Linked DNA regions of Homo sapiens: regions 1, 2, 3, 4 and 6 are each linked to region 5. The links are contacts of gene promoters, found by promoter capture Hi-C in human tissues and cell types (Jung and others, 2019). All regions are on one chromosome and are shown on one strand. The core of a region is centred on a gene start or on the middle of the fragment in contact, and the rest is flanking DNA. Distances in the headings are between cores, read along the strand shown.

Evidence for each region. Contacts are between HindIII fragments. The study calls those that stand out against the background at their distance.
Region 1: a contact is called between a fragment that was not itself captured here and the fragment with the promoter of CERS4 in region 5, in 5 of the 25 tissues and cell types used here (H1 embryonic stem cells, dorsolateral prefrontal cortex, hippocampus and 2 more).
Region 2: a contact is called between a fragment that was not itself captured here and the fragment with the promoter of CERS4 in region 5, in 1 of the 25 tissues and cell types used here (spleen).
Region 3: a fragment that was not itself captured here is called in contact with the fragment with the promoter of CERS4 in region 5 in 3 of the 25 tissues and cell types used here (H1 embryonic stem cells, mesenchymal stem cells and spleen).
Region 4: a fragment that was not itself captured here is called in contact with the fragment with the promoter of CERS4 in region 5 in 2 of the 25 tissues and cell types used here (dorsolateral prefrontal cortex and liver).
Region 6: a contact is called between the fragment with the promoter of CCL25 here and the fragment with the promoter of CERS4 in region 5, in 3 of the 25 tissues and cell types used here (dorsolateral prefrontal cortex, mesenchymal stem cells and spleen).

What each region holds. Positions count from the first base shown.
Region 1 is chr19:7,959,854-7,963,495 of GRCh38, reverse strand. It overlaps ELAVL1 (ELAV like RNA binding protein 1), which reads left to right. Exons shown (of 6, transcript NM_001419.3): 6 at 1-3,642. The coding sequence ends at 13. Among named protein-coding and RNA genes, the nearest start is that of TIMM44, 18 kb to the right of the region's middle. The HindIII fragment of the contact is 4,499 bases long and covers 1-3,642 here.
Region 2 is chr19:8,066,693-8,070,714 of GRCh38, reverse strand. All of the region lies in intron 63 of FBN3 (fibrillin 3), which reads left to right. Among named protein-coding and RNA genes, the nearest start is that of CCL25, 16 kb to the right of the region's middle. The HindIII fragment of the contact is 6,042 bases long and covers 1-4,022 here.
Region 3 is chr19:8,025,822-8,029,442 of GRCh38, reverse strand. No RefSeq gene overlaps it. Among named protein-coding and RNA genes, the nearest start is that of ELAVL1, 22 kb to the right of the region's middle. RefSeq lists an enhancer at 1-274. The HindIII fragment of the contact is 5,079 bases long and covers 1-3,621 here.
Region 4 is chr19:8,456,664-8,460,818 of GRCh38, reverse strand. The region is part of intron 2 of HNRNPM (heterogeneous nuclear ribonucleoprotein M); the gene reads right to left. Among named protein-coding and RNA genes, the nearest start is that of HNRNPM, 14 kb to the right of the region's middle. The HindIII fragment of the contact is 5,699 bases long and covers 1-4,155 here.
Region 5 is chr19:8,208,059-8,211,817 of GRCh38, reverse strand. CERS4 (ceramide synthase 4) reads right to left here and starts at 2,448. Exons shown (of 12, transcript NM_024552.3): 1 at 2,324-2,448; 2 at 956-1,112. RefSeq lists a silencer at 1,848-2,767. The HindIII fragment of the contact is 7,028 bases long and covers 1-3,759 here.
Region 6 is chr19:8,051,113-8,054,873 of GRCh38, reverse strand. It overlaps CCL25 (C-C motif chemokine ligand 25), which reads right to left and starts at 2,114. Exons shown (of 6, transcript NM_005624.4): 1 at 2,052-2,114; 2 at 1,752-1,874. The coding sequence starts at 1,824. The HindIII fragment of the contact is 31,009 bases long and covers 1-3,761 here.

The DNA of each region.
Region 1 (3,642 bases), core at 944-3,443, 250 kb after region 5:
GTCCCACAAATAACTCGCTCATGCTTTTTTTTGTACGGAATAGATAATTAAGAGTGAAGGAGTTGAAACTTTTCTTGTTAGTGTACAACTCATTTTGCGCCAATTTTCACAAGTGTTTGTCTTTGTCTGAATGAGAAGTGAGAAGGTTTTTATACTCTGGGATGCAACCGACATGTTCAAATGTTTGAAATCCCACAATGTTAGACCAATCTTAAGTTTCGTAAGTTATTTCCTTTAAGATATATATTAAACAGAAATCTAAGTAGAACTGCATTGACTAACCAGTCCCTCTGGATGGTGGTGAACCTGAAGCATGCTTTAACCTCTAAGACTGTCTAACACGCGTTTCATTCAATGTCTCCACAGACTGGGTAGCAAAAAAATCACCTTTTAGTTTTAGTTTTTAATCTAAAGATGTTAGACAGATGCTGAGTGTGCGTTTTCTCAACCGCTTCAACATTGTAAGCGATGTATGCTTTGGTTGACAGGAAGTTCCTTTTCCAGGCAGGTCCCGTTGCCACCTCCTGCTCACTCAGTCCCGGGCTCTGCCGAGTGGTCCTGGGAATGGCGGCGGGCCCGTCCAGCGTGGGCCACCACTGGGGCCGGGGGCCACGGGCTGCATGCTGGGCGGGCCCTCCAGAGAAGGACACAAACGTGTTTCGTAAGCCCAGGCACCAATGGGAATGGACCAAAGAGTTTCAGGGAAACTCCAGTATATTCCAGAGTCAGATCTAAGCTCCAGGCACGCCTGAAGATGTGTTGCTACTCTGACATCCCGAGTTTCTGTCCACACATTGCATGCACAGCGCCCCACACATTGGATACTGTTGTTCACGATAATTTCTCCCGTTTTCCAGAGCATTTAACATAGCTTGGAGGCGTAAAATGGCTCTGTATTTTAATAACACAGAAACATTTGAGCATTGTATTTCTCGCATCCCTTCTCGTGAGCGCTTAGACCTTTTTCTATTTTAGTCGGATTTTGTTTTGGAATTTTGCTTTTGTATGAACACTCAGCAGAAAAGTACTTACTTCTTGCCAGTTATCTATTAACCAAAACCTTTGATTTGTAGTTTTAAAGATTAACCCTCAAAGTTCTCTTCATAACTGCCTTGACATTTTGGGTTGTTCTGTTCTGTTAATTTTCTTTTGCTTTTTTGTGTTTTTTGTTTGTTTTTACTTTTGCATTTAAGACCATTAAATTTGATTTTGTTTTGCTCGAATTTTGTTTTGTTTTTTATTTTACCTTTTCTTTCTTTTTGGCTAGGGAAGGTGCAGGTGGCCCAGCATTCAGGGAGGAGTCGTAAGATCTTAAGAAACCAATCCTTGCCTCAAGCAAAAGCATTTCTGAATCTGTGACGCAAGAATGTGCAGTTACAGGCTGGTGGCTTTTAAACCAGGAGCCCGGAGGAAGGGTGAAAGAGAAAGCCTGTGAAATAGGCAGGGCCAGATCACCCAAAACTCCTCAGGACTGGGATCTGGCGTTTATAAATAACTAGTTTACAGAGAGAATCACAAACAGGATAACTTAGTACCAGCAGTTTTTAACCTTGACGTGAGACTAAAACGTGACCGTAGGCTGTTTTTTAGTTATTGCTCTCATGAGATGATGGCTGTATTTATCTGTTTATTTATACCTATTTATGTATTTATTTATTGAAGTGTGAAATTGAGCAATAGGCAGGCACCACCGTCCCCAGAGCAGGTCAGCGTCTCGAGAGGCCCCTGGACAATTGAGGATGCCCATCCCCTCCCCTTTCCCTGATCTTTTACTGAGGGGCTGTGTGCGCGATCCTTGCAAATTGATGATGTTGCCATCCGTACCCAGGCTGTGTCTCATAAAAGTCGGCCTGGTGCCAGAGAGGACCTCCTTTCTCCCACAGAATCCCAGATCCTCAGGAAAAGCCAAAACCGAGGCCCATTGCCCGGATTCGACACAAAAGAGGGTCCCTGCTCTGTTGCCCGAGAGCAGTCTGCATCCTGGGACCAGAATGCTTTCCTGGAAAAAGAAGCCTTTCAGGTTTCCCTGGGCCAGCATCTTCTGATGGAAGGTGGGAGCCAACACCCTTCTGATGGAAGGTGGGAGCCAACACCCTTCTGATGGAAGGTGGGAGCCAACACCCTTCTGATGGAAGGTGGGAGCCAACACCCTTCTGATGGAAGGTGGGAGCCAACACCCTTCTGATGGAAGGCGGGATTCCCGCTTCTGAAACTCCCCCTGGAGTCTCACTCCCACACATGCCCATAGCTAGCATTCAACAGAGAACTCTGTCTTAAGCTTCAACTGTGAAAATGATGACGGGCTTGTAGCACCTCAGCTTCTTTCCTCGCCCCCTTTTATCTGAATCCTATCAATTATTCTGATGCTGGGACAGGTGAGAAGAAACTGTGAAGTATATGAGCCTTTGAAAGTTCCCTGAAGTTTCTCAGTTCAGGAACATTCTCATTGTATGTGGTCTCCGCTGTTTGAACAGCCTTCTAGCTAAAAAATTCCAAAGCCTTTATTTGGGAGTCTTAGCTTGCAAGCTTGTGGAAGGATTTAGCTTAACAACTGTCACTCCTGAAAAGCAATCTCTGTTCCATCAAGGTTCTAGTTGCTGGCCCTGTGTCCTCAAAGTTCATTACATCTTATCAAGGCCTGTTTGCAAAGGGGAGATCCCTTTTCTTAAAAAAGGCTCAACCCAAAAGAAACCATTTCTTAAAAAATTTTACATAGATCAGTTGTATTTCTATTTAGCAAAAATGAGTGCTCTGCTTTTATTTGGGAATTTCGATGAAAAAGCGTTCAGAGTAGATAATGTTCATTTATCAAAAATCTGGTTTGGGAAATACCAAAGAGGCTTTGATTGAATTCCCTTTTGACCCGTGTGTAACTTCCTCTGGTAGTTAGACCCCAGGCAGCTCCGAATTTGTGAACCTGCTTCCTGATGAATTCTCCCTTGTTCCCCCTTGGCTCTGCCATTATTTCGTTTTCAGTGTAATTTGCCAAGCCGCAGTTTTCTGTGCTGGCTGTGCCTCTAGTCGCAGCTCTGTGACTGATTCCCTCCCGGGTGCTGAGTCCCCTCCCCGGCCACCATCCTGCGTGAATATCCTGAAATTCATGGGCTTCCTCGGGGGCCCGCCCGCAGGTGGTGCTGGGTGGGTTCCGCCACCTTCTCCTGGAAGGTGAGCCTTTTCCTGGCCAAGGGCAGCTGCCTTAACCTCTGAGAGTCTGCGCTTGGCCTTAGTCCTGGAGACCCAGCCTCCAGGGACTGAACCGTGCTGCTGTTGGGAGCCAAGACCGGCCCTTTGGAGCCGGCAGCCCAGGGGTCCCTGCTGGATCAGAGAAATAGAAGCACCCGAAGACGGTTAGTGGCAATTCCTTGACCCGGTTTGCTTCCAAATGAAGGCCATTTGTCCACCAGGCATTGAAAAGACATGACTTACCCAGTCCGGCATCGGACTTGAAAAATCGAAATTGACATCACTCAGCTGTTACATTTCACATCCGATTCAGCCCCCTTTTATTTCCATGTGCTTTTCGCAGCCTTCCTGTGTTGGATGAAAGAGAATAAGAATTCAGCTGACAGGAGGCCTCTATCCTGTCCCTCCACCCCACCCTCCACCTCAATCCCCTCCCATCTTCCCCAGACCTACCTCACC
Region 2 (4,022 bases), core at 481-2,980, 140 kb after region 5:
CAGATGGAGGAACTGAGGCTCTGAGAGGTTAGGGCACATGCCCAAGTTACAGAACTTGAACGTGGTGGTTCAGAGATTCCATGGATATGGCACGTGGACTTCTCTTTACAAGCAGCCTTGGCATCCATGGCCAGCCATCCTGGGCCCCTCTGTCTTCCGAAGCCATCACTTTACATTGTTTCCCAAACAATTATCACTGAGCATGGAAACCATTACCCCAAACTCACCCCCACTGCAGACATTTAGGTCGAAGCTTCTTCACTCCACAGATTTTACTGAATACCACTGCTGGGCACTGTAATGGAGCAACAGTGAACAACAACAACAACAAAAACACCTGCCCTCGTGAGGCTGATATTCTAAAAGGGAGACACACAAGAAATCAACATGTAAAACATATCATCTTTTATAACACATGACAAATATGATACATGATAAGTGCTATGGGGAAAAACAAAGTGAGACATGGGATAGGGTTATTGGGCTTGAGAGGCTTTCTATATTAGATAAAATGTGAGTGTATTACTTTGTATTACTGAAAGGCCCTTTTTCCCCTCTAGTTATTTTTTCCCCCTTGCTAGGAAAAACTGTGGATGTATATATTATCCCATAGTTACTGATATTTTCTGTAAACTTCATAAGGGTAGAGCTGTGTCTGTAGGATTTACTACTGTATTGGTACCCCTTGGTACTCAATAAGAGTGAGTGAGTGGTTGTCAGGGTCCCAGGGCAGAAGTAGATCAAGACAGAGAAGGGCTAATTTTTGTATTTTTAGTAGAGATGGGGTTTCGCCATGTTGGCCAGGCTGGTCTCAAACTCCTGGCCTCAAGTGATCAGCCCACCTCAGACTCCCAGAGTGCTGGGATTACAGGTGTGTGCCACTGTGCCCAGTCAAGGCCAGGATTTTGAGACCAGCCCGGGTAACATAGTGAGACCCCCTCCACCTACAAAAAGTAAAAATATTAGCCAGCTGTGGTGCCATGTGCCTGTAGTCCCAGCTACTTGGGAGGCTGAGGCGGGAGGATTGCTTGAACCCAGGAGTTCAAAGCGGCAGAGAGCTGTGATCACACCTCTGCACTCCAGCCTGGGTGACAGACAGACCCTGTCTCAAAAATAGGGCTGTATTGTGCCTTTGCCTGCAATACCCACTGACTGCCAGCAGGGGTCAGTAAGAGCATAAGTCTTAACAACATTCCGTGGGAAGAAGGCCTGAGATCTCCAGAACTGAGGGGCTGGGGAACAGGAATAACTTTCACTTGAATGCAACAGCAAAACACTCCGTCGGCATGTAAATGAGGCCAAACCAACACAGTGCTCCCTAAAACAAAGGCAAAGAAAACACAGATGACTTTCTGTGGGGTTGGATACGTCACCCAGCCCTGGGGTAGCCTGCCATTGAGGCTCGCTGTCTTATTCAGGGCCCTGTCCAGCTGCCAAGACCAGGAAGGCACTTCAGAGGAGCTTAAATAAAGAAGGGTTTGTCATTGGCACACAAGGGGCTCTCAAAGAGGGCCAGATGCAGGAAGCACAGCGGAAGCTATCAGGCGGCTCTTCTGTCTGGTCCTTTACGCTCTCCTCTCCAGCCCTGCTTGGCATCCCGTTTCTCTCACTGTCAGCTCTGGCATTCTTTTAGGGGCTGGCTTCTGCTGAAAGGCCCTTGTTCCTAACACCAGCCATCCCAAGACATTTCTGAGTGACCTTAGGGCTCTGGGTCGCAATGTCATCTGAATAATCCCCTGGCTGCTGGGTCTCTGAGAGCAAATCTTTGATACCTTTGGCCCAGGCTGGCAGGGGTCTGAGCAAGGTCCCTCAGCTGGGACTAGGGGTCTGTAGTGTGTAACAGTGGCCGTTTCCCTGCCTCTCTCAGAAGCAGCCTCAGCCTTATGCCACTGAGTCTACAGATCCAGCTGACCTTGCGGATGAACAACCAGACTTGAGATGCCAAGGGAAGCAGTATTTTCCTCCACTTTATTTTTTTATTGATTTATTATTTATTTATTTATTTATTTATTTGAGACAAGGTCTCACTCTGTCACCCAGGCTGGAATGCAGTGGCGCAATCATAGCTCACTGCAGCCTTGAACTCCTGGGCTCAAGCAATCCTCCCGCCTCAATCCCCCAAGTAGCTGAGACCACAGGTACATGTACCACCACACCTGCCCAGCTAATTTTTGTATTTTTTGTAGAGACGGGGTTCACCATGTTGCCCAGGCTGGTCTCAAACTCCTGGGCTCAAGTGATCCACCCACTTCAGCTTCCCAAAGTGCTGGGAGTACAGGCATGAGCCACCGTGCCCACCCTATTTATTGATTTTTTTTTTTTTTGAGACGGAGTCTTGCTCTGTCGCCCAGGCTGGAGTGCAGCAGCGTGATCTCCACTCACTGCAAGCTCCGCCTCCTGGGTTCATGCCATTCTCCTGGCTCAGCCTCTGGAGTAGCTGGGACTACAGGCACCTGACACTACGCCTAGCTAATTTTTTTTTTTGTATTTTTAGTAGAGATGGGGTTTCACCTTGTTAGCCAGGATGGTCTCAATCTCCTGACCTCGTGATCCACCTGCCTGAGCCTCCCAAAGTGCTGGGATTACAGGTGTGAGCCACTGCGCCCAGCCTATTTATTGATTTTTAAAATCAATTTATTTTCTTTTTTTTGGGGAGCAGGGTCTCACTCTGTCACCCAGGCTAGAATGCAGCAGTGCAATCATAGCTCACTGCAGCTTGAACTCCCAGGCTCAAGGGATCCTCCCACCTCAGCCTCCCTAGTAGCTGGGACTACAGGTGTGCAACACCACACCTGGTTAATTTCTTGTATTTTTAGTAGAGACAGAGTTTCACCAGGTTACTCAGGCTGGTCTCGAACTCCTGGGCTCAAGCAATCTGTCCACCTTGGCCCTCAGCCAACTTCATGTCTTTTCGTAGCACATCTTGTCACTTTTACATTTTCCATTTATTTGTCTACTATCTGCTTTGCTTTACTAGAAGGTAAACTCCCTGAGGGGAAGGATTTTTATCTGCTCATTGCTAAATCCCCAGTGCCTCAAAGATTGCCAGGAATTCAGTAGGTGCCTAATAAACATATATATATTTTTGAGACAGGGTCTCAGTCTGTTACCCAGGCTGGAGTGCAGAGGTGTGATCACAGCTCACTGCTGCTTCGAACTCCTGGGACCTCCCACATCAGCCTCCTAAGTAGCTGGGACTACAGGTGCACACCAGTACTAATATTTTCACTTCTTGTGGGTGGATGAGGTCTCACTATGTTGCCCATGCTGACCTCAAAATCCTGGCCTTGGCCAGGCACAATGGCTCACGCCTGTAATCCCAGCACTTTGGGAGGCTGAGGTGAGCGGATCACTTGAGGCCAGGAGTTTGAGACCAGCCTGGCCAACATAGTGAAACCCTGTCTCTACTGAAAATACAAAAATTAGCCAGGCATGATGGCAGGCACCTGTAATTCCAGCTACTTGGGAGGCTGAGGCAGGATAATCACTTGAACCCAGGAGGCAGAGGTTGCAGTGAGCCGAGATCGTGTCACTGCACTCCAGCCTGGGCGACAGCAAGACTCCATCTCAAAAAAAAAAAAAAAAGAAAAAGAAGAAGAAACAAAGAAATCCTGTCCTCAAGCAATCCTCCTGCCACAGCCTCCAAAAGTGCTGGGATTATAGGCATGAGCCCCTGTGCCCATCCTATTTTTTTAGATTGAGAGGGTACAGGTTTGTTATTAATAAATGGATATATTGCATGATGAGGCAGTTTGGGCTTCTGCTGATCCCATCATCCAAACAGTGAACATAGTTCCCAATAGGTAGTTTTCCTTTTATTTATTTATTTATTTGTTTTGAGACAGTCTTCCTCTGTTGCCCAGGCTGGAGTGCAGTAGCGTGATCTCAGCTCACTGCAACCTCCACCTCCCGGGTTCAAGCGATTCTCCTGCCTCAGCCTCCCAAGTAGCTGGGACTACAGGCGCCCGCCACCACGCCCAGCTAATTTTTGTATTTTTAGTAGCGACTGGGTTTCACCATAT
Region 3 (3,621 bases), core at 789-3,288, 180 kb after region 5:
TTGGCTGTCACCACTGGGAGGCTGGGGGGGCGGTGGGCTGCCAGAGAGCTGCTAAATAATCTAGACTGCACAGGACCGCCCCCTACCAGGAAGAATCAGCCAGCCCGCAGAGTAGCTTAGAGGGCGAGAATCCCTCTGTCCTCATCCCTCCGGACTCAGAGGGGCTTTCCACCAGGGGCAGCTGGAAGGGTTTATTGGGTGACCTTTGGCCTTTCTAACCCTGCCCCCCGCCCCCCACCCTGTCTCCCGCCTTTCTTGGGAAAAGCTGATTTTAGTTCCTGGTGACCCTTGGCCTCCTCAGGGAACACAAGCATTTGTGTGGGCTGATGGTTTCTACCTCTGGAATGTGACTGCTCCGCCTGGCCTGGGCCCTGGAGGACGAGGGATCTAAGAATAGTGACGTTTTTCCCCCCACCCCTAGGCCTGGCCCACTCTGGCCTCCAGATCCCAGGCCCCTCACTGTGCTGGAAGAGGTGGTCAGGCAGACAATGTCCGAGGGAAACGTCTGGAGCCTGTGCTGGTCACTGGGCCGGGGAATGAGCTGGTTCATTCATGGGGCACGGGGCAGAGGTGATGGATCTGCGGAGGAGGGGCTTGGTTGGGGTGGTGGGTCTGCACCTTGTCAGCACCCCACACCCCCCAACCCCAGGCCTGCCCTGTTTTCCCTACAGCTCCTTGTCCCTGCTGCCTCTGAAGGACTTACGTCACTGATCCCCTCAATGGCCACCCCTTGGAGTCGGCAGGTTCTCCTTGGGCTGAAGCAGGAGTCGGGTGCCTCTCTTGCCTACTGGAAAAGGGACCCCAAGCTTGGGAGGTCTGATCCAGTGGGGCAGGGGCCCTGGTGCCAATGCCGGAGAGGAACTGGTCCCTGGGGGCCTCATGTCCACTGGGATGTCATAAACCCACCTGGTGTCCTCAAGACGGGCCCTCGAAGGCAGGGCTCACTGCTTGTTCATTTGGTCTGAAAGCCTTGGCTGCCTCATGGGTGCCAGGCCCCCCATGCTGGGCACTGGGGATGCCAAGGGGGACAGATCCCCGCCTCCTTCCTGAAGGAGCCTGCATTGACCCAGGAGAGCAGGGCTCACATTTGCTGATGTCTCAGTCAAGAGCCAGGCCCTGCACTGGATGCAGGAGCTGTGGTTGAGGGCAAAACAGCTGTGTTTCTGGGGGACAGTGTAGGGAGATGTCAGCCACAGGAAGGAAAGGCAGTGGGGATCTGGGTAAATAAAACCCCAGGGGCTGGGTGCAGTGGCTCATGTCTGTAATCCCAGCACTTTGGGAGGCCGAGGCAGGTGGATCACTGGAGGTCAGGAGTTCAAGACCAGCCTGGCCAACATAATGAATCCCCGTCTCCACTAAAAAAAAAAAAAAAAAAAAAAAAAAAAAAAATCAAAAATTAGCCGGATGCGGTGGCACATGCCTATAATCCCAGCTACTCAGGAGACTGAGGCAGGAGAATTGCTTGAATCTGGGAGGCAGAGGTTGCAGTGAGCTGAGAATGTGCCACTGCACTCCATCCTGGGTGACACAGCAAGCCTCTGTCACTAAAAACAGACAAACAAACCTGGGTGCAATGGTATAAAGAGGAGGACGAGGAAGGCCAGTGTGTGTCCAGGGAAGCCCCTGTACCCTGGAGGGTGGAGGCTAGTTTCAGGGTTTGGCCGTCCCTCCCACGCAGGCCCACCCAGTCCTGGCTCCTGCCTTCTACCTGCTGTGGCTGCAACTGCTCTGGCCAGCCAGGTGACTTCCATGTGACCCCTCCCCAAGCCTGAGCCCCCGATGTATGAAACCCGGTACTCCCACCCAGGCTCCAGGCCAGCCCCATCCGCCAGAGAATGGGGTGTCCAAACCCCAGAATCCTGGCTCCTTGACCTGTGGAAGACCTGGCAAGGAATGAGTGTGGGTAACAAGGGCCACCTGAGGTCCTCTGCGCACCCTGCTGAAACCCCGTGGGCTGTAGCACAGTCATGCGTCCCCTGGGGTGCACCCCAGTAAGAGAGAAGTACATCAGGTGCTGAATGGGAATGAGGATGGAACAAAGATGAAAGACCAGTGAGACTGGGCGATGGCTCATGCCTGTAATCTCAGCACTTTGGGAGGCTGAGGCGGGCGGATCACTGTTGCCCAAGAGTTCAAGACCAGCCCGGGCAACATGGCAAAACCCTGTCTCTACTAAAAATACAAAAAGTAGCTGGGCGTGCTGACACATGCCTGTAATCCCAGCTACTCAGGAGGCTGAGGCATGAGAATCGCTTGAACCTGGGAAGCGGAGGTTGCAGTGAGCCGAGATCGTGCCATTACACTCCAGCCCAGCCTAGGCGACAGAGCAAGACTGTTTCCAAAGAAAAGACCAATACATCCCTTTCCCCAGCCTCAGTTCCTTCCTCTCCCACCAGAATCTGAAGCCACTGCTTTAACTGCACCATTGAGAATGTCCCTATCTCCCCCAAATTTAAGCTTCTTAAGCCTCAGACCCTTGATTGGATGGAGTACCCACAGATGCCACCATGAACCCACGATCTCCCACCCAGCTGGGCTCCTCCCTGCCCCCAGAGCAGCCCCTTGCTGTAAAATGGGGTGAACAGAACTGAACAGGCTGTTACCATGAGGATTTGAGGGCATCAGTACAGCGCTTGGCCCAGGGCCCGGGAGCCACTACCACTCTACAGAGTCACAGGCCTCCTGACCATAACTCCTATGGGTGCGTGATTTACCGGGCCAGCCTGCGTGCTGGGCGTTTAGGTAGTTTCCAACCAGAAGGTAACTTATTAAAGAGCCTAAGACACGTCCTTCTGCAGGCAGCCCTTCCACAAGTGGCTTGGGGTAATTTTCAGTGGTATAATCACAAGCTCAGACTACGAACCCTCTTTTTTTTTTTTTTTTTTTTTTTTGAGATGGAGTCTCGTTCTGTTGTCCAGGCTGGAGCGCAATGGCGCAATTGGCTCACTGCAACCTCCGCCTCCCAGGTTCAAGTGATTCTCATGCCTCAGCCTCTCCAGTAGCCAGGATTACAGGCGTGCACCACCATGCCCGGCTAATTACTGTATTTTTACAGAGCTACTGAGCTCGAACTCCTGACCTCAGGTGATCTGTATTTTTAGAGAGCTACTGAGCTTGAACTCCCAACCTCAGGTGATCTGCCTGTCTCAGCCTCCCAAAGTGCTGGGATTACAGGTGTGAGCCACTGGGCCCGACCTTTTTTTTTTTTATCCATAGAGACAGGATCTTGCTATGTTGCCCCGGCTGGTCTTGAACTCCCAGACTGAAGCAATTCTCCTCCTGCCTCAGCCTCCCAAAGTGCTGGGATTACAGGTGTGAGCCACCACGCCTGGCCTATGAACCCTCTTATATGCTGGGTGTGCATTGTCCAAAGGGTCTTTCCAATTGAAGTGGCAGCCACCCCTTTGGAAAGCAAGTGTTTTTTGTTTGTTTGTTTGTTTTTTGAGACGGAGTCTCACTCTGTGACCCAGGCTGGAGTGCAGTCGCATGATCTCTGCTCACTGCAATCTCCATCTCCCGGGTTTACACCATTCTCCTGCCTCAGCCTCCCAAGTAGCTGGCGCCCGCCATCACGCCCGGCTAATTTTTTGTACATTTAGTAGAGACAGGGTTTCACCATGT
Region 4 (4,155 bases), core at 254-2,753, 250 kb before region 5:
CCAAGTTGATTTCCTACCAGCTATGACTACCACCTAATAACCTTTAAAAAATAAAAGACTCACAATAATTAATTCAAAACAGCTGCAACCATGTTGCCGAAATTCAAGTCCCAGTTGCATGGGAAGTTTCTAGTCTGTGTCCATAAGACGCTTGGATCAAAAAGCTGTAATTGCAACCCAGAAACCAAGCAAATCCAAACCAAACTTTTTCCCATGGCCATAACCACTTTAACAAAAAGAGAGGTTTAGAAATTAGGACTTTTTCCACGTAACAGTCTAGTCTAGAAATAGCACACCTGACTCAATCCTTTGTATTAAAAATTTGCTTAAAACGTTCTCCCTCTTTTTACCTCAAGTGGTATCATCATTTAGCAGTCACCCGGGGGTCCAGCATGAGTAGTGCTGTCCCTGAGATCATCAGTAATGCCCATCCTCCTCACAAACTCATAAAATTCCAACCTCTACCCTGAGAGACCATCCATTAAGTGTTAAGGGATCTGCAATAGCTGCTAATTCATACTTTCCTATAGGAAAATGGAGCCTTTAAAAGACCACCTCCCTTTTGGTTCTACAATAGCAAAGCAAAGATTTATTTTATGTAGTCAGTACAACTATCGACAAGAATGTGAGGGCAAAATTTGTCAAGTAAACAGTCTGGTCACATTCCATGAAGTGAAGTTTAACGAGCAAACCATCCAGAGCAGATCACACAGTCAGGACTCAGGGGTAGAGGTGACAGCTTGGCAGTAGCAGCAGTCTTACAGAAACGGCACTCACAGTTATTAATAAAAAATACGGTTGCTCCTCCCCCTGTGTAAACATGGATGGAATTCATGGAATCCCAAGAGTAGGCTGCTAAGACAAATTCTACTGCAGCTTAAAACATCAAAATATTGAAAAAACTAAGACATTAAAAAATCTAACACCAACTGTTATCTACCTCTATTTAAAATGCTCTAAGAAATCATTTTTGACCAACATTTAAGTGAATTATTAAAAAGACTGCCTTATTCTTAAAACACATCAGGAGGATAAGCAGATGAGCAACCCAAAAAGAACTCAGGCGGTCCCTGGGAGCTACTGTGACCTCACTCTCCTGCACAGACCTTTAGCCAAATGAGTATTTGTTTTTGTGTTCCCATTTACTGCTCAAGTCTGAAAAAGAAAAAAAGAGGGAATACAGTGCCGAAGCTTCACTGAAGAGAATTCACATGTTATAAGACCTATATATTTTTTTTTAACAGGAGTTGGGGGGACTTGAAAGTCAGGCATGTTGTCAAACATTCTTCATCTCATAACGGTCAATTCTCAGGCTGCCACTCTATTGGGCGAGGGGAGTGCACAGAACACATGCACACTCTTTAATATAAAGACACCTTGAAACATGGCAAAATAATTATTCTACACACCTACTTGGCTTATGGACATGTTAGGAAATGACTGAGCCCACGCTCCTCAATTGCGTGGCAATAACAGAACGTTACTGCTTCCCTAACACCAGAGACCACACGGGGTAAGCCAGACAGGCTGCACTGCTGGGGCTCAACCTAAGTATTCATACATATGAACGCTTTAGCATAACAGGCCTTTCTAAAATGCAGGCTGCGGCCAGGCCTGTAATCCTAGCACTTTGGAAGGCCAAGGCAGGCAGATTACCTGAGGTCAGGAGTTCAAGACCAGCCTGGCCAACATGGTGAAAGCCCATCTCTTACTAAAAATACAAAAATTAACTCGGCGTGGTGGTGGGTGCCTAATCCCGGCTACTTGGGAGGCTGGGGCAAGAGAATCACTTGAACCCAGGGGGCAGAGGTTGCAGATCACACCACTTCATTCCAGCCTGGGCAAAAGAGCAAGACTCCATCTCAAAAACAAAATAAATAAAATACAGGCTGCATTTCCAACAGAGGAAAATATGAAGAAGCAAGTAGACTGGGTAGGAATATCATTTAAATTGAAAATACAGTTCTGCCTAATAGACCCACAATGCAAATTATCTCCAGGAGCCAAGATGGAGGTTTTCTACTGGACTACACTTGCCCTCTGGGCCTTAGTTTTCTGTCAGATGCAATTTGAAATTTACTTAAAGTGGTGTATTATACTAACAGAAGGATTAAGTGCTTAAAAGAAATCTTTGCTTACACAAGTTGAACTGACTGCTGCTAAACTTCGGATCGACTGAGGGTAAACTACATCCCTGACCTTCCTTTCTTCCTCAACCTGGGCTCTATTTACTCACTGCAGGTGCAGCTCAGTCCTGCTCTGGTGGCACTGCCCCACCTGGGTGCTGCCGGCTGCCTGGTGAGGTCAAGAGAAGCAGCCCAGCAAGGAGCTTCCTCCACTCATACAGGACTTGGTCTCAAACAAATGTAGCACGACACTAAGTTTAAAAGCCTAAGATCGCCTTTTCTCACAGAAATCTTTATTTTTTCCACCCAGTCCTTATGGTCAATCACTTTAAGATGTGTATCCCTTTACCTGTCAGGATACAACCTGGGGAGCTGTGGCCTGTTAAGTCACTTTCAAAGGCATAAATGACCAGTTTACTTCCTATGTGGATTTTTAATAGGAAATGCTAGAATGCTGCTAAATGCTAAAATTAAAGCTGGAGAATATGCAGCTGGTATGAAAGATGGGGAAGAGGATCAAGAGTGAGGGAGGAGCATGTGAGACAATCTCCCCCCGGAGTATCCTTAGAAAAAAAGCTCCCCTCTTGGGCCTCTCAAAGCTAGCTACTTTAGTTCTGAGAGGCTGCAATTAGATAGTGCTATAATGACAGAAAATTTCAGTTGAGGACAACTAATTCCAGTTCTTGTTCTACTCATTTCCTGAAACAAGGCTAAGATTCATCAGACCTTAAAACACAGACTGATAAAGAGTGCTTAGGTTACAACAGCCCAGATCTCTGTGTTTTGGAATTGAGACTAATACTTTTAGGGTTGTAAGTGCCTCTATCTGCCAGTTCTTCCTATGTATAAAGTCTTCAAAACACTTAAAACTTATGCGCAACAAATTTCAAGTAAATATTTCAGATTTAAACTAACCACTTAAACATTTTTTGTACACCAAAACGGGAATAAAAACGTCTTTTTGAAAGCACGTAATAAGAAGAGTATTTCTTAAGAAGTCATATGTATGTAAACACAGTAAATTTCTTTAGACCTCACATACTGAATATAAGCATTATCATAAAAAGATTACCTTTCTGAGTCACTTTACCCACAATCCTATACCGCTAATAATTTAATTAAACAGCAAAGTAATTAATTTAACCAGTACAGGGGAGCTCTAAACAAGAACATTTTAAGGCTCATTAAAAATAACTGATTTACTGCACACCTGTAATTCTAAATTACACCACCAAAAATACACTGAGAGGGCTGAGCCCAGGCATTCGTAGCAGTATGCCAGGGGAATATGAGAACCAGTTTGGAAGTATCCCAATCAACCACCAGGCTGGCTCCACACTTAAGAGTGCAAAATAGTGAATTGAGGTGAACTGCTTCTACATCCAGAAACACCATGGCTGCTGCTGCTACTACCAGCTTTAAGGTTTCCCAAACCGAATTACTGAATGGTAAAGCAGTAAAAATGTCACCTACTTCATCCAGCATGTCCCAAAACTGGTTCACACACTCCTAAAAATGAAAAAATAATTTGGCCTGCAATCTCTTACAAAATTCTAACAATTGCATTTTCAAAGCCACATTCCTGGTTCTTGGAACTACTATACCTTATTATCAATGGAAATAGCAATTCAGCGGTTCAACCAAATCACGAGAACACAAATTTGGAGGTTATTCCAAAAGCTAATTCGAATGAGGCCCAACTGTACTGTACAGAAATTCTAAGCTTCTATTGAAGCAGCAGTCCCAAAAACCAAGAACACTGCATCTGGGATGCAGCATGACACACCCTCAGACAAAAAGAAGAAACTGCACTCTTGCCCTAGGAGCATTGGCAGGAATGATTTGGCTGATCAAGGCAGGCACATCAATCTCACACCAAAACGTTTTTCCATCTGTGTTATCTGGAGAAATGCCACGTGGGAGCAGCACGCGTGACTGTACGGAGAGGTTCACAGTGCCTAGTGCTTCTTGCATGTCATGGTCAAAATAAGGGATGGGACAATGATGGCAGTGCCATTCATAATTTCAA
Region 5 (3,759 bases), core at 1,199-3,698:
CAGGTTCAAGAGATTCTCCTGCCTCAGTCTCCCATGCAGCTGAGATTACAGGTACATGCCACCACGCCCGGCTAATTTTTGTATTTCTAGTAGAGATGGGGTTTCACCATGTTGGCCAGGCTGCTCTCGAACTCCTGACCTTAGGTGATCTGCCTGCCTCAGCTTCCCAAAGTGCTGGGATTACAGGCGTGAGCCACCACGCCCAGCCCCTCCGTGATATTTTAATAGCCTCCAGCTCTGTGATATTCTCGTGATATTTTAATAGCCTGTTTAGCACGTATTCACAACCAGCCAGGCACTGTGTTCAGCTCTTTACCTATAGGTCATGACTGCTATTATCCCATTTTACAGGTGGAGAAACTGAAGCAGGAAGTGGTGAAGTCAGTAGCCCGGAGGCCCTCAACTCAAAGTGGCAGGACAGGGCTGGGGGGTGGTCAGGCTCAAGCCCAGCCAGTCGGAAAGGGAGAAGCTTGTGGTGCTCAGAGAAGGGGACAGGGCAGCGAGCTCCCAAGGCACCTGCCTTTCTGTGCCATCCCACGGGTGGGAGGAGGGAACCTGGGCCCACTTCTGCTGCCAACTACAGGCATCCCAGTGGCTCCTGAGCCAAGACATTCTGTGCCACGCACTGGGTCAACCGCTTTATTCAACCTGCAGACAGCCCTGGGTCAGGAGGTGGACACTGTTGTGAATTTCTCAGAGGAGAAATGGAAGCCCATACATCCCCCTGAACTCCCACCGGGCGTTAGAACCCTCTCCGGTTCCTTAGGGGTGTGGCTGCCACCGAGATCTGCCTAGCCTCGGCTTTCATCGATCCATGAACACTCCCAGGCTCAGATACTACTGACCCATTTTACAGATGGGTAAACTGAAGCTCAGAAACCTTTCCCTGGGGGCCCTACAGCCAGTTCAACGACCAAGGCCGCCCCCCACCCCCCACACCCCAGGCTCAAAGTACCTCTGCTGGCAGTGGGTGAGCTGGAAAAACAGGTAAGGAAAGTCCTCAATGCCTCTTCCTCCACGCCTGGCTGGGCCTGCTGGGGCCCAGGTGCACTGAATGAGGCTTCTAATCAGTCCCCCAGCTCCACTTCTGTGTTTATTCACAGCAGCTGCTCCTGGAAGGCAGACCCATTTGAGGCTGGGGGAGGCCGAGGGCTTCAAAGACAATTCCACAGTCCAGGAACCCTATCCCCATATAACAGACCCAGGTCGCCCCAGTGGGGTCACCCTGGCCTCTGCGCTCAGATGCCTGAGACCTTGCCTGAGCTCAGACTGGAGTCGATGGGAGCATTCCCCCATCTGGTAGGTTTTGCAAACCACAACAGCCTCTCCCCCTGCCCACCTTCCTGTGTCCCCCAGAGCAGCTTCTCCTCAAGTCTCCCAACCCAGCAATGAAAGCCTCTTCTATATACTCCTAACTACCCAGGAGAAACATCGGTCCCCCACGCTCCACTTGCAAACAGACAGAATTAGACGATGTTACTCTGCCAAAGCGAATTTTCAGTTCACCCACTTCCTATCACACCTTCCAGCCAGGTCAAGCCAGAAGCCCCCTTCCAAGTATCCCCATCTCTCCTACCCACAGCGGCTACGGGATGTTCTTAAGACACAATCCGATCACGCCATGCACCTGCTGTTCCAAGCCTCCCTGGTCCCCACCGCCCCGAGAACGGGTTCCACACTCTCCTCGCCGCTTCCCAGGCCCCGGCCAACCTCTCTCCACCTCAGACCCTCCCTCTCCGCGTTTCAGCCAGGCTGGCCTCTTTTCTGCTCCGCACACACTCCCGGCTAGGCCCTGGGCCTAAAAAGCCCTCGCTGGCTGGTCCAACCAGGCCAAATGACATTATCCCCGCCTGGGCACCTCCACCTCACCCCGGCCGCCTGATGGGTTAGCTCGGGCTTGGAATGACGTGTTTAAGCGGTTCTCAGAAGCCGTCTACGCGGCCGGGCTGCGGACTCCGAGGCCAGGGCCCCAGCTGCGTCCCCAGCCCTGGCACGTCGGGGAAACGGGGCGCTCCCCCGGCTCACACATCCGGATTCCCCCGCGTCACGAGGCCAGGATCGCCCCTACTCGCTCCAGCCCGTTTCACAGCCGCGTCCTCGGGCACCCGTTGCGCCCCGGCCCTCGTGGGGGAGCGCGGATAGCTCGGGGAGACGGCCATGATGGGAAGCCCCGAGGGGGACAGTCCCCGGCGGGGTGATGGGGGCTGGAGCCCAGCTGCGAGTGGGGGCCGGGCTGGGGCCGCCATGGCCGCGGAGGCGGGGCCGGGGACCGCCGTGAGGGTGGCGTTCGGGGCGGTGTTCGCGGCGCGGGGTGCTCGCTTACCTGGGGGTGCAGGCGGCCGGGCGCACCGAGGGCCGGCGGCGGGGCTGGGGACGGCGCGCCTAGCGGGCTACCCGGAGCAGCTGCAGACACGCGCCGCCCGCCCCAGGCAGCCGGACTCTGCTCCTGGCCGGGCCTCGGCCCCCAGCAGGGGAAAAAAGGCTTGAGTGGGGGGAGCCCGGGGCGGGGCCGTGGGGGCGGGGCCTGGGCGGGGCACGCGCCCCGGAACGGTGGGGCCTGGCGCGGGGCTGGGGCCCTGGAGAGGCGGGGCCTGGCGCGGGGCGGGGGACTTGGAGGGGCAGGGCCTGGAGCGGGCGCCGGGTCCTCCAGGCGCTTGCCCCCCTCGACGCAACTAGGCCTCTCCCTGGCCCCCGACCCCGCACCCGCACCCCATCCCCGCCCCCGTCCCCGCCCCCCCATTCTCGCCCCCGCCCCCGTTCCCGCTCCGCCCATCTCTGCCCCGCGGCGCGCCTGGCCCGGGTCCAGCCTAGCGTTTCTAGTCTGCGCCTTATCTCTCCCCTTTGAACCCAGTATTGTCCGCTGCGCGCTCCGTCCGGCCCCGGCTTCACCCCTGTTCGCTGTCTGTCTCCCCGGCCCCCTCCCAGGTCCCCTCTTCTGCCCGAGATGCTCTGGCTCTGCTCATCTGTCCACACCCCCACACTCCCGGGGCGCCCTGAGCCTCTGGGGCGCGCAGTTGGATGGTGCACAGGGGAGGCCCAGATTTCTCCAGGCCTCAGCGGCCACCCTGGGTACCCCGAGTCTGGGGCCCTGTTGGAGGGCCAGTCCAGGGGTTCGCCCGAGGCGCGCGCGGGGGCCAACCGAGGCGGTGAGGGCACCGGGCAAAGGCTGCGATTTGGTGGGGTGCAGGGGTCAGGCGACAGAGCTGGGGAGATAAGATGGGAGATAGGCCGGGTGGGTGGTGGCGCAGCCCTGGTTTTGGCTGAGGGCAGCAGCAGTGGGGGCTGGGTCCCCCGCTTGCCTGGTAGAACCGAAAATGACCCAGTCTCAGCAGCGCGCAGGGGCAGGGAGCCTGGGCGATCCCTGAACAGAGGACAGCCCCAGGGGTTTTCATAGTCGCTGGCCCACCGCATGTACTCTGGGCAAGTGGCTTCGCCTTTGGACAATAAGCCTCTGTAAAATGGGGATAATAAACCTTTCTCTGACTCAGCTCAGCAGACCCAAGACCCATGGGGTGAAGTTGGGGCCTCCCTGCCACAGGGCCCTAGGCAAGCTGAGATTTGATTTCCTCACACAGACAGGGGCGCGGGGGGCGGGGCGGTCAGGGAGGCAGGAGACCTCTGTTGCAAGTGTGGAAGAACCTGTCCCTCCAAGTTCAGACTCCTGGCGTTTGCACTTGGCCTTCCCTCTGCTACACTGTTTCTCTTTTCTTTTTTCTTTTTCTTTTTTTTTTTTTGAGACGGAGTCTTGCATTGTGGCCC
Region 6 (3,761 bases), core at 865-3,364, 160 kb after region 5:
CTCAATGAAACAAAACAAAACACCAACCAAACAAACAAAAAATTGTTTTAATACAAAGTAAAGAGCTCTCAGTAAATGTCAATGTCTAGACAAGCAGAGATGAAACACACAGATGAATTAGACCTAGTGTTGTCTTCAGGGAGCTCCCGGGAAACTGATCTCTGCAGAAAGGGGGAAGCACAGGCACTGTGGGGGGTGCCCAGAGGAGGAGGAGGTGATGCCAGAAAGTTCTGGGGGGATGAGCAGGTGGAATGAATGAGCCGAGGATGAGCTGATGAGATAGTGGAGGAAGCTGGGGTGCAATTCTCTGCCTAAATGGCCTTTGGAGTTCTCTGCAATCTCACCTCTGCCAGAACTAACCTCCAGAGGCCGAGTCTGAGTCCCTGCAGAGCCCAGCCCAGCAGGAGCAGGGAAAGGGAGGACTCGAGCCCTCCAGGTGTCTCCCAACCGCGGCCTCTGAGGGCAAGGGGCAGCGCATTCTGTTGGAACCTCGGACTGCAGTGCCAGGCAGGTAGTTCCCAAGGCTGGAGGCCAGGATCGAAGGGCTGGGCTGGGCCTGGCTCTGATAGCAAAACAATCAGACCACAGCCCAACCCCCTTCCCAGGCAAAGGCCAAGGACTTGGACCCATCAGACCCAGCCGAGGGGCAGGTGGGTCAGGTGGGGGCAGACAGGGAAGGAGGGTGGGACCCTGGGTCTGCCGCCCAGCCAGGGACCCTGCTTTGGCCAGCTGCTGAAACTCAGAGGATGTAGGACCCAGTGTCAGGGCTCCCGTGGGGACACCCCAGGCCCAGGAATTGTCCTTTGGCGACTGAAATCCTCAAGTGCTTGCTCTGCGGTAGGGAGTGGGGAAGAAGGAAAGAGTTCCCTATTAATAACAGGAACAGTTACTATTGCCGCCGCCAGACATGAGGCCTAGTCTTTTGCAGGCATGAGCTCACTGGACCCTCAAGTCAGAGCCATGCAGTGGGAATTTTAGATTCCCACTTTGCAGCTGAGGAAACGGAGGCTCCTAAAGGTTTAGGAAGCCGGGCACAGTGGCTCAAACCTGTAATCCTAGCACTTTGGGAGGCTGAGGCAGGCGGATCGCCTGAGATCAGGAGATCGAGACTACTCTGGCCAACATAGTGAAACCCCATCTCTACTAAAAAATACAAAAATTAGCCGGGCATGGTACACACGCCTGTAGTCCCAGCTACTTGGGAGGCTGAGGCAGAAGGATCGCTTGAGCCCAGGAGGCGGAGGTTGCAGTGAGCCAAGATCGCGCCACTGCACTCCAGCCAGGGTGACAGAGTGAGACTCTGTCTCAAAAAAAAAAAAAAAAAAATGGTTTAGGAGCAACTAACTCTCAGCTGGACTGCATGGAGGGACCAGGATGGGAATCCACTCTTGTCAGTCTCCAGGGCCCTGATCTCCAACCCCACCCCTGGCTCGGCAGGATTAGGATTCTACAATACATCCCTGGCAGTAACTGGCTTTGCCCACAGCTGGAAGCCACCCTCTGCTCCCTCACATCTTTAGGAGTCTTGCAAAAGACTCCATGGGGCTCTCGAAGAAGGAACTGGGGACTCTCCATCTCCCCGACCCCATCCCAAGAGCTAACCAAACACCAGGAGTTCCTGCATGTCAGGAGCGGGAGAATTCAGTGGAGATGGGATTGGGGAGACTTCCGGAGGAGATAAGAGACAAAAGGGGTGGGGTGGGGGCATGGGGAGAGGGGCACTTGGTGGTAGGCATTGCCGAACACAGTACCTTGGGTGTGGACAGCGGGGGCCCAGGCTCCCAGGAAGCCGGCCACCAGGCAGGCCAGGAGCCACAGGTTCATGCTGCAGGCGGGTCCTCCTCCCTGGGCACCTGGACGAATAACGGGGCCACCTGGGGTCGTGGAGGGAAGTGGTAAGGACTGAGGAAGAGGAGGGGAGTGGGTACTGGGAACATCCCCCCTCTTAAGCCCCAGGCATATGGCAAGGGAAGGAGGTTGTATAAAGTAGGAACAAGTTGTGCTGGAGGGAAAAGCTGTTCATCTCAGTCATGTTCAAGGAAAAGACTCACCGATATCCACTGGGTCAAGGGAGCTGATGCCCGCCGGGCTGTAGGCCAAGCTGTCCCATCTGCAGGACCAACACGCTGAGCTTCACTCTTTATAGACAGAGCCCCACCCAGCCACCCCCTGCCCGCCCTCCTCCCTTCCTCCTCCTCTCCACCTGCACTCTCAGCCTCTGGAATTCTCCCTCTTCTACAGCAAGCTCCAACCTCGACCCACAGGCCCCCTTGCCTCCCCACTCCCCATCCCAGGCCTCCCAGCCAGCACCCCTACTGTCTCCAGAAAGGGCCTTTTCCCCTGTTTCCCTCACCTGCACACACCTGGTGGACACTGGCTGCCTGCGAACAAGGCTCAGACTGCCTTGAGCCCCCAAACAAGCCCTTACCTTCATGCTCCCCCCGCCCTCAAGCCACCTGTTCCCTGGTGGGTCCCCAACTTCACTCCATTTCCCTCTCCTTCCACACCATGGTTAGGTAACTTAGCATGTCACAGAAATCCTCTGGTTGTGATCACAGGCAAATCCATAGAAACAGAAAGTAAATTAGCGGTGGCCACAGGATGGGGGGAGGGGAGAATGAAGGACTGACTGTGAGAGGGTATGGGTTTCCTTTTGTTCTGAAATTAGATGAGAGTGATGGTTACATAACTCTATGAATATAGTCAGCACGGCACAATGGTGCACCTCCCACCGGTGAACAACCCCAACAAGAAAGAAACTCTCTAGGCCAGGCATGGTGGCTCATGTCTGTAAGCCCAACACTTTGGGAGGCCGAGGCCAGAGGATTGCTTGAGCCCAGGAGCTCAAGACCACCCCGGGCAATATAGAGAGACCTGCGTCACTACAAAAATTTTTTAAAAAATTAGCCTGACGTAGTAGTGCATACCTGTAGTCCCAGCCACTCAGGAGGCTGAGGTGTGAGGATTGCTTGAGCCTTGGAGGTTGAGGCTGCAGTGAGCTGTGATCATGCCACTGCACTCCAGCCTGGGCAACAGAGCAAGACCCTGTCTCAAAAAATGGAAAAAAAAACGGTGGCCGGACACAGTGGCTCACACCTGTAATACCAGCACTTTGGGAGGCCGAGGCAGGCGGATCCTCTGAGGTCAGGAGTTCGAGACCAGCCTGGCCAACATGGCAAAACCCCATCTCTACTAAAATTACAAAAATTAGCCGAGTGTGGTGGGGGGGCACCTGTAATTCCAGCTACTCAGGAGGCTGAGGCAGGAGAATCGCTTGAACCCGGGAGGCGGAGGTTGCAGTGAGCCGAGATTGGGCCACTGCATTCCAGCCTGGGCGACAAGAGTGAAACTCTGTCTCAAAAAAAAAAAAAAAAAAAAAAACAAAAGAAAAAGAAAAAATGGAAGAAATGTTTTGTTTTTGGAAGAAAAGCCAGGAGCCCCGGGTAGCCATGCCCTCAGGAAGCAAAGCAACATTCACCGAGAAGGCATGTCTTTTTTTTTTTTCTTCTGAGACGGAGTCTTGCTCTTTTGCCCAGGCTGGAGTGCGGTGGCGCTGTCTCGGCTCACTGCAAGCTCCGTCTCCCGGGTTCACGCCATTCTCCTGCCTCAGCCTCCCGAGTAGCTGGGACTACAGGCTCCCGCCACCACGCCTGGCTAATTTTTTGTATTTTTAGTAGAGACGGGGTTTCACCATGTTAGCCAGGATGGGAGAAGGCATGTCTTCTTTCCCTGGGGCAGCAGGACCCAGCCAGGACACAGGG